Linked DNA regions of Homo sapiens: region 1 is linked to region 2. Evidence: promoter capture Hi-C in 16 types of primary human blood cells and fetal thymus (Javierre and others, 2016). All regions are on one chromosome and are shown on one strand. The core of a region is centred on a gene start or on the middle of the fragment in contact, and the rest is flanking DNA. Distances in the headings are between cores, read along the strand shown. Region 1 has its middle 65 kb from the start of SPEF2. Region 2 holds the start of PRLR (prolactin receptor).

Region 1 (4,181 bases), core at 160-2,659, 320 kb before region 2:
GAAAGAATCACTTCACTAATTTTTTTAATCTATGAGTAGATAAGTAGAAGTCTTTAAAATAAAATCTTCCACTGATTTTTATATTTTTTTCTGAGAGAAATTCTTGTTGGCACTCTAAAAAGCTGGATTTTCTGTAGTTTTGGCAGAATAAGACAGCCACAAATCATTTGACATTCGTCTTTTTATTTCTTTAACATTAGAGAGCCAAATGCCCCTCTTTTTTTGCAACTGGAGTGGCCTTTCAGGTGATAGAACGCAGGGAAAATGAGATTGTGTAACTCCTAGGGCTAGGTCTGAAGAAACTGTGTAGTTCCTGCCTTGCCCACTAAAATCCATGATGTCTAAATGCTTCCCGTTGGGATACTGCTCTCAGGACCAAGCAGCCATGCTGTGAGAAACCCAGGTCATATGGAAGACATTATGTTCAATTACTCTAGTTGACAGCCTCAGCTGAGCGAGCCATTTTGGAAGTTGAGCAGATAACTGGGGTCCCAGCCAATATCCAACTGCAACTTTTTGAGAGACAACAAGTGAGAATCCCTAGCTGAGCTTTTTTAAAATTCCTGACCACAAAATTATAAGCAAAATAAGATGGTTGTTTTAAAATGCTAAATTTTGAGGTAATTTCTTTTTTAGCAATAGATAAAACACCAACGAATGCCACAATCTCTGTATGCAGAGACCATTGTTTCCTTCCTGTTGCACTGTATGTTTCATAGTATTGACTATTCAGCAAAAATATTAGCAATAACTTTGTGTGATCATAAATATATTAATAATCTCTGATTGCTAAAATGTCATTTACCTAATTTCATTTTGTTTTTCAAATCTTACTAACCATATTGAGTTGAAAGACAGCAAAAATGATTTGAGAGAGCATTGTTGGTACTGGCAGGATAGGATTTGTAGAGTGAAGGCAACAGCTTTGGGTACCTGAACCCATGAAAAGGCCAGGTACAACTGACTAAAGAGGGTTATCTAAGAAGCAAGCAATAACTGATGAATGGGAGAACAAAATCATTGTTGGCTACTTTTATAGAAGTCCCTTCTGAAAATGACATCATGCCACAGCTTCCTTCAAAGCAAAATGTTTTCCCAAAAATTATAACAAAAACTTATTTTTCGTGAAAGCAGGCCAACTGTTTTCAACTATTAACTTGTGCTGATCTCTAACACATGGATAAAGGGATTTCTAATTTGAAATTAAAGTTTGTTGCTAAAGTGGCAGGCTAGTTTCAGGTTACAGCTGGGAATTCTTGACTTATATCATGACTGAATCAAGAATCAGTAGTAAACACTTCAAACATTTTGTGCCATTTTTTGCTGGAGTCCAAATCTATCCTTCCTACCCTGGCAAGTTGGCTTCATCTATCTACTGCACTATCTAACTATAGGACATACTAGAGGCTTATAATCTAAAATTATTTTTCCTTTTGGTCCTCACCTAAACCATGTTTAGGCACATTTTAATTTTATTTTTTTAACCTTAATCTATTGGTTTCATTTTATTCTAACATAAGTCTCTATTTATGGGAGGTAACCAATTAAAACTACCAAAAGGTGTTCATATATGAATTGATGGCAGAAGAATAGGTGTATGTAATCATAGATATAATGGGAAAAAAACAAAAATGAAAGAACAGTGCAGTCTTTTTAATGAATGTAATCTATGATTGTTTGTTTTTTTAGGGAAACAGGATTTTTAAAAAATTTTTTATTCCCACAGGTTTTTTGTGAACAGGTGGTAGTTACATGAGTAAGTTCTTTAGTGGTGATTTGTGAGACTTTGTTGTACCCATCACCTAAGCAGTATATACTGAACCCAATTTGCAATCTTTTATCCCTCACTTGACACCCACCTTTTCTCCTGGGCCCTCAAAGTCCATTGTATCATTCCTATGTTTAGGCACATTCTTAAGTAGGGCTTAGGAATTCTGGGTTTATACTGCATGGGGGCAACTAATGAGTGCTCATATGATTTCTGCTGGCTTGTAAAGTGGTGATTTTCTCATGAGAGATGTCCCTATTTCCCATGAAATTTTTGCTTCTGCTTTCCCCAGGAGTGGCTCTGAGAATAATTGGACTGTATCCTGCAGGAGGGGGGTTAAAGGCAGAGGTATTGCCCTGTTGAGAACTGAGCTTGGTAGAAGGCAAATAGACTCCCAGAAGCATAACTCATAGTGGTGTGCCATAGTTACTACTGAGAAATTGTAGCACTTTCGAAGAAAAGAGAAGAAGGATTAGCTCGATTAAGACACCATCTTCATATCTATGAGACAGAACTAGAGAGGCAAAGAGTGAACCTAAAATATAGGTGACAGGTATATTCAACATGTAAAAACACTTTTCATTTAAACTTACCTTAGTCAGGTTCAGATGCTAACTCATTAAATATGACTACCACTAAAACAACAATGAAAAGAAATGTAAGAAGTAACATAATAGAATGATAAAACAGTCCAATTATCTAAATATGTTTTGATCCCCTGATATTTATAATATAAATAATAATCATTAAACCTTGAATTTTATGGTGTCTCCGTGTCTCCAACTGAGGCTTCTTTGAAGTAGTGATGTCATATTAAATGCTATAAATGGGCAAAGTAATTGATAACTTACATTCTTCAGAATGAGAATATTTGCCCCATCTTAGATTATTCACAGGCCCACTTGTGCTTTTAGAATTCAATTATATTTTATCTTATCAACTTTTCTAACTATTCCTTGTAAATACTCTCTTTTTTAACCTTAAGAGTAATGATTGTAATTTATTCAGTGTGTACCTGGCTACAAATTATACTACAAGACTACAGTAATCAAAATAATATGATACTGGTATAAAAGTAAATGCATAAACCAGTGAAACAGAATAGAGAACCCAGGAATAAAGCCAAATACCTACAACAAACAGATCTTTGAGAAAGAAGACAAAGATGTGCACTGAGGAAAGGATACCCTATTCAATAAATGGTGCTTGGAAAATTGGATAGCCACATGCAGAAGAGTGAAACTGGATCCCTATCTCTCAACATATCCCAAAAAAAAATAACACAAGATGGAAGGAAGACTTAAATGTAAGACCTGAAACCATGAAAATTCTAGAAGAAAACCTAGGAGAAACTTTTCTGGACAGTGGCCTAGGCAAATAATTTATGGCTAAGCAAATACAACAAAAACAAATACAACAAAATAAGAATAAATATATGGTACTTAATTAATACTTAATTACTCTTATTAATAGTACTTAATTAAATACTCTCTTTTGTGCTTTTGTTTTGCAGTGCTTACTCATCAAACTTCTCCCTTCCTCAATCCTTCCATGACTAAATCCTTCCTTTAGCATATTCAAAGAATGAATATCCTTACCTGAAACAGAGGAGGACTTAATTTCAATGATCACATCATTCACATTTGTTCACATGGCCACCTCTCATGCTAGTGAAGTTGTTAACTGGTATCTTGATTCAAGGGAAGTGTGCTGTGGAAGGTTATTTGAACATCTTCTGCCCCCTGCCATTAGTGGTGGTGGCATCGTGCCCAGGATTGAAGTTGGCTACATACTCAACCACAAAGACTGAGGAGAAAGGGATTATGGGCAGTAATGTTTCCTGGTTTTCCCAAAGTTAAGTGTTGAGGCAGGAGATGCCTAAGAAGCCTGTTATAATTCAGTTCATCTGTAGCTCTGGTTGGTAGAGCTTCCCAAAATGTACCTTGCAAATGACTTGGACTTTATATGAAATGTCTTACTTGGGAACAAGACAAAATAGGATGCAGGGCAAGATTTCAGAAAAGATTAGACTGCGTTCTCAGAGAGACTTCGGGTTAGGTCCTACCTCTGCCATTCACTAGCTTTGAATTTGGGCAAAGAACTTATCTTTTCGGCCCTCTGTTTGCTCATATACCACAATGTTCATCCAACAACTATGCCACACTCTTAACGTTGTGTAGCTATTTTGAAACTGTGTTCAAAGTTTAGGTGTGGCAGAGGTTCTTCTTTGACCCAAAGATCAGACAGACTTGGTTCAAATAGATGATGGTAATTGCATGCCTCCTGCTGGAGACTGGTTTGAAGATGGACATGTTACCCATTTCTGGCCAATAAGACATAGAGGAGATCAACCTGGAAGGATTATGAGGAAATCTTCCTTGTTCTTGAAGAGATCCATTGGTAGAAATAGGCT
Region 2 (4,138 bases), core at 691-3,190:
GCTGGGGCAAGGTAACTCACTGACAATGAGTACCCGTGGCTTTGTGACAGTGCCTGTGTGCTACACAACAGAGCAGAAAGCCAGCCCTGCCCTTCTTACCAGTGAGGTATGGATTAGCCACGCAACGACCAGTCTGTAAGCCAGGAGTACAGACGAGCCAAGCTGCCTGCAGCTGAGTGGGAACCACAAGGAGGAAAAGCCAAGTCCCTGCCTTCTAAGAGCTGACAGTCTGGAGTTACCCAGAGTGATCTTCTATTTCACTAACTGTTAAAATAGTCTGATTAGAACAACTATTGTAGAATTGAGTGACCCTTTGCTTTGCAAAGGTCATATAGAAATATTCTGCCACTGAGGATCTCATGTCGCCCAGTGGTTCTGAAAATAAATAGAAGTTGCGTACCTTCATGGACACCCATGAATGAAAGTAAATATACCCTAATCATCACAGGAAGCATGTGCGGTCTGCACGTGAAAGATGCATCTCCCATCAGCTAACAGAACCAGGTGGAGTCTATGTTTTAATAAGGACGTGTTATTGATCAGGAAGTATTAGGTTATTATGCCTAGGTAGTTGCTTCTGGGATTCCAGTCCAAAAGGATCACCAAAGCATCATGGGATTTTCAATGGCTTCCTGTGGCTTGGCAAATGCTCACTGCTAACTGTGATTTCCCAGTTATCCAGAGTAGCAGTCAAATCAAAGGGGAAAGCCTCATGTTTCAATAACTTAAAACAAAACAAAAAAAAAAACGGCCAGGCGCAGTGGCTCACGCCTGTAATCCCAGCACTTCAGGAGGCCAAGGTGGGTGGATCATGAGGTCAGGAAATCAAGACCATCCTGGCTAACAGGGTGAAACCTCATCTCTACTAAAAATACAAAAAACTAGCCGGACATGGTGGCACGCGCCTGTAGTCCCACCTACTCGGGAGGCTGAAGCAGGACAATTGCTTGAATCCAGGAGGCAGAGGTTCCAGTGAGCCGAGATGGGGTCACTGCAATCCAGCCTGAGCGACAGAGCGAGACTCTGTCTCAAAAAAACAAACAAAAACAAACAAAAAAAAAAACTCAGTAACCTTGGTTTAAAGTATTTCCTTGGTGGCCCTCTGGGTTGTGTAACAATCGGATGCATTAATTATTATGGCATCAAATGACACCAGCAACATACATAGTCAGAAATAACTATTTGATTCAGGCAGGTGCTATTATTTGTTTCAGCACTGTTAAATGTGGGGTTTTTGTTTTTGCAAGAGAAAAGGCGGTTGTGTGTGGTTTCAAGAAGAAGAAAAGTCAGAACAACATGCAGCCCATTAGAAAAGATAAATTCTTTATTTGTGGAAAACAACAGAAGTGGGGCTATTTAGGCACCGCCAATGTTTATTATATTCATATGGCAGAGAATAAACACAGCACACTAGAAGTTTGCGCTTTGGGTATTAAAAAAAAAAAAAAGCAAAACCTTCTTAGGTCACTGACTATCTTCTTTTGCTCCTTTCTATCTGACTCCTCAGGCAAGGTGCAATTCAAATCCCTGGAGAACCTCTCAAATATAGCTGCTGTTCAATGTTACTCAGAAATAAGGAAAGAAATTTGACACGGAGACACTCCACATCTTGGCTGCCTGGAAAAATATCATCTTTGAGGTCATTCAACTCACTAAGTCATTTTTATTATTGTTTTGTCTGTCTATTTTCTGGTACAGTCTCAATGAAAGATATGTGGCCCTAATCATGCAAAACCGATCTGGGGGGAATCAGTTGTTTCTTCAGGTCTTCGCAGGATTCCAGCTCCCCCAACTACCTCCGTCGCCTTCTAAAACTGGCAGGCTCTGGACGTTTTGCATGCTGAAGAAAATCACTGTTTTGCCTCCAGCAAGGAACATAAATGTTGCAACACTGACTCCTCCTCTCATGAAGAAAGAGTGAACAAGTGCACCGAGTTGAGCTTCTTCTCACAGAGCCACCGGGCTGGGGACCGGGGAGCGGAGGCTGAAATCCCCAGACGCCGGTTTTCTGGGCTGGGCTTTCTGCCTTACTCACTCCTTCTCCCTCTTTCTGGATTTTACCGACCGTTCGCGAAACAGCTTTCCACACAATGGAGCTTCATGTCCTCGTGCAGGAAGTACTCATCGACTGATGTGGCAGACTTTGCTCCCTGGCAAAAGTGAGTACCCATGGCGAGCTGAGGCCGCCTCCGACGGCGCGCGGCAGGGGCTGCGCGGGCGGCCGCTCTCCGGGATGCGGGTTCGAGGCCCGCGTGCTGAAGGGGAGAGCGGGGCCACCGGCGCGGGCTCCTGGAGAGAACGCCAGCCAGGAGCCAGAGTCGGCAGCCGGCGGGGAAGCCCGGGATCCGCCCGCCTCCCGCCCGGATGTCCCTTCTCAGAGGGGCTAAAAAATACTCTTAAGGTGCTTTGCCTCCACCACTGCCCCCAACCCCAGCTTTTACAAACTGCACTCGGCTCGCATTCGCCTTTGTCAAAGGCATCTTCACCTGTATCCTTGAGCATGAGTTTCGGCGTTGATTGTGGGATTCTCAGAATGCAAATTATTTGCGTCAAAATAAAAAGAAAAGAAAAAAAGAGCGGGGAGGGGGAAGGGGCGCAGACAGGTGATGTGATGAAAGCCGGACTCGAGACTCTCCCATCAGCAGCAGCCGCCGCCGCAGCAGCCTCGCGGGCATCCGGCGGGGAAAGTTTAGGGTTAGCAATGCTGACCTGAAAGGTGTTGCTCCTCCCAAAAGTCAGCGGGGGTAGGGGCAGATGAGCAGCCTCCGGGCCAGAAGCCGGAGCTGGACGGAGGCACCTAGGCAGAGGAATTGCAGCCCGGGAGGAAGCTGGAAGGAGAGCCCGCTGGAGAAGGGAGGAGGGAAGGGAAGAGGAGTTGGTTAAAGTCAGGCAAACTCAGGTAACTGGAGGGCCGGCCCGAGTGCTACGGCAGGGGAAGGCAAGGGCTGGAGTTCTGGCTCTTTGAGTAGAAAACTATCCTTTTAGTGACCTCTACCTGTATCCTGGGGAAGCAACCCACACTGCCCTGAAAACAAGCAACGTAGGGGATTCTATGACTGGACTTGAAAATGGTTGCAAAACATTATTATTAGTCTGGAGGGATCACTTTGTCTTCATTTGTCAAGTTGACCGGGCAAGATTTCCCACCTGAAATCGTGCTTCACTTGACCAGGGAAGTGCTGCTAATCCCAATCCTGACCATCAGCTGTGCAAACTTGGGCAAGATACTTACCCTCTCTGGGCTTCGATTTTTTTTCTGCAAAGTTTAGGGAATTAATTAATTATATATATATATTATAGAAATATATATAATATATATATAAATGTTTAATGAGGTGGAAGTGCTGAATAGTGCAAGAGAGGAGCAGATGAAAATATTAATTTCAGTGGTTCTTAAAAATTAGGGGTGATAGGTCCTTTTGAGAATTAGCTGTGAGTCCTCTTCCTGGGGCAAAATGCATATGGCATGTACATAAAATTTTACATGCAATCCCTGAGGGTTTGTGGATACTCCCTGAAAGCCATGCCTGAATCCCAGGTGACAATCCCTTATTCCTCCTCCTGTATCAAGACCACCCAGCCAACTCCTTGCTGCTGGTTGGGCTGACTGTGGGAGTAATCCACAGCCTTCTTGGGGGTCTGGAGTCAGCCACGCTGCTGAAGGAGACAGCTCCCCTGTCATGGGTGAGCTCCCCACATGCTCTCTCCAGAGCTCTACCAGCCTCTGACTCCAGGGGACCCCTCCTCACAACCCTTTTTAATGACTCTCCTAAGGCGACAGTCCTTACCCCTAGAATTTTCAGTCCCACCAACCCTGGAGAGCCATCTAAAGAGGATCGCTGTCTGAATCAGAGTGCTCTTCAGGTCACCTAGCTGGATGGCAGGGAGGCCAAGGCTTTGTTTGGAAATGAAGCAGTCTTTGCTCCCTGAGGCATAGTATGAGTAGGCAGCCATATTCTTTTGAACCTCTGTACTTTGCCTTTAGAGGACTAAGGACTCACATCTCTGGGGACCCTGGGTGTTCCACTAGCAGTGCCAGCAAGGCACATCAGAAAACACACAGGGCTTTGGAGCTCAACAGACTGGGCTTCAGATCTTGACTCCCACACTGAGCAAGCCTCTGAGTTTTCCTGAGCTT

What was found. Contacts are between HindIII fragments. The CHiCAGO score rates a contact against its expected background, and 5 or more counts as called.
Region 1: a contact is called between a fragment that was not itself captured here and the fragment with the promoter of PRLR in region 2, in 1 of 17 cell types (monocytes). The highest score is 5.1, in monocytes.

The regions. Positions count from the first base shown.
Region 1 is chr5:35,550,464-35,554,644 of GRCh38, reverse strand. No RefSeq gene overlaps it. Among named protein-coding and RNA genes, the nearest start is that of SPEF2, 65 kb to the left of the region's middle. The HindIII fragment of the contact is 8,248 bases long and covers 1-4,181 here.
Region 2 is chr5:35,228,289-35,232,426 of GRCh38, reverse strand. It overlaps PRLR (prolactin receptor), which reads left to right and starts at 1,940. Exons shown (of 10, transcript NM_000949.7): 1 at 1,940-2,159. The HindIII fragment of the contact is 6,146 bases long and covers 1-4,138 here.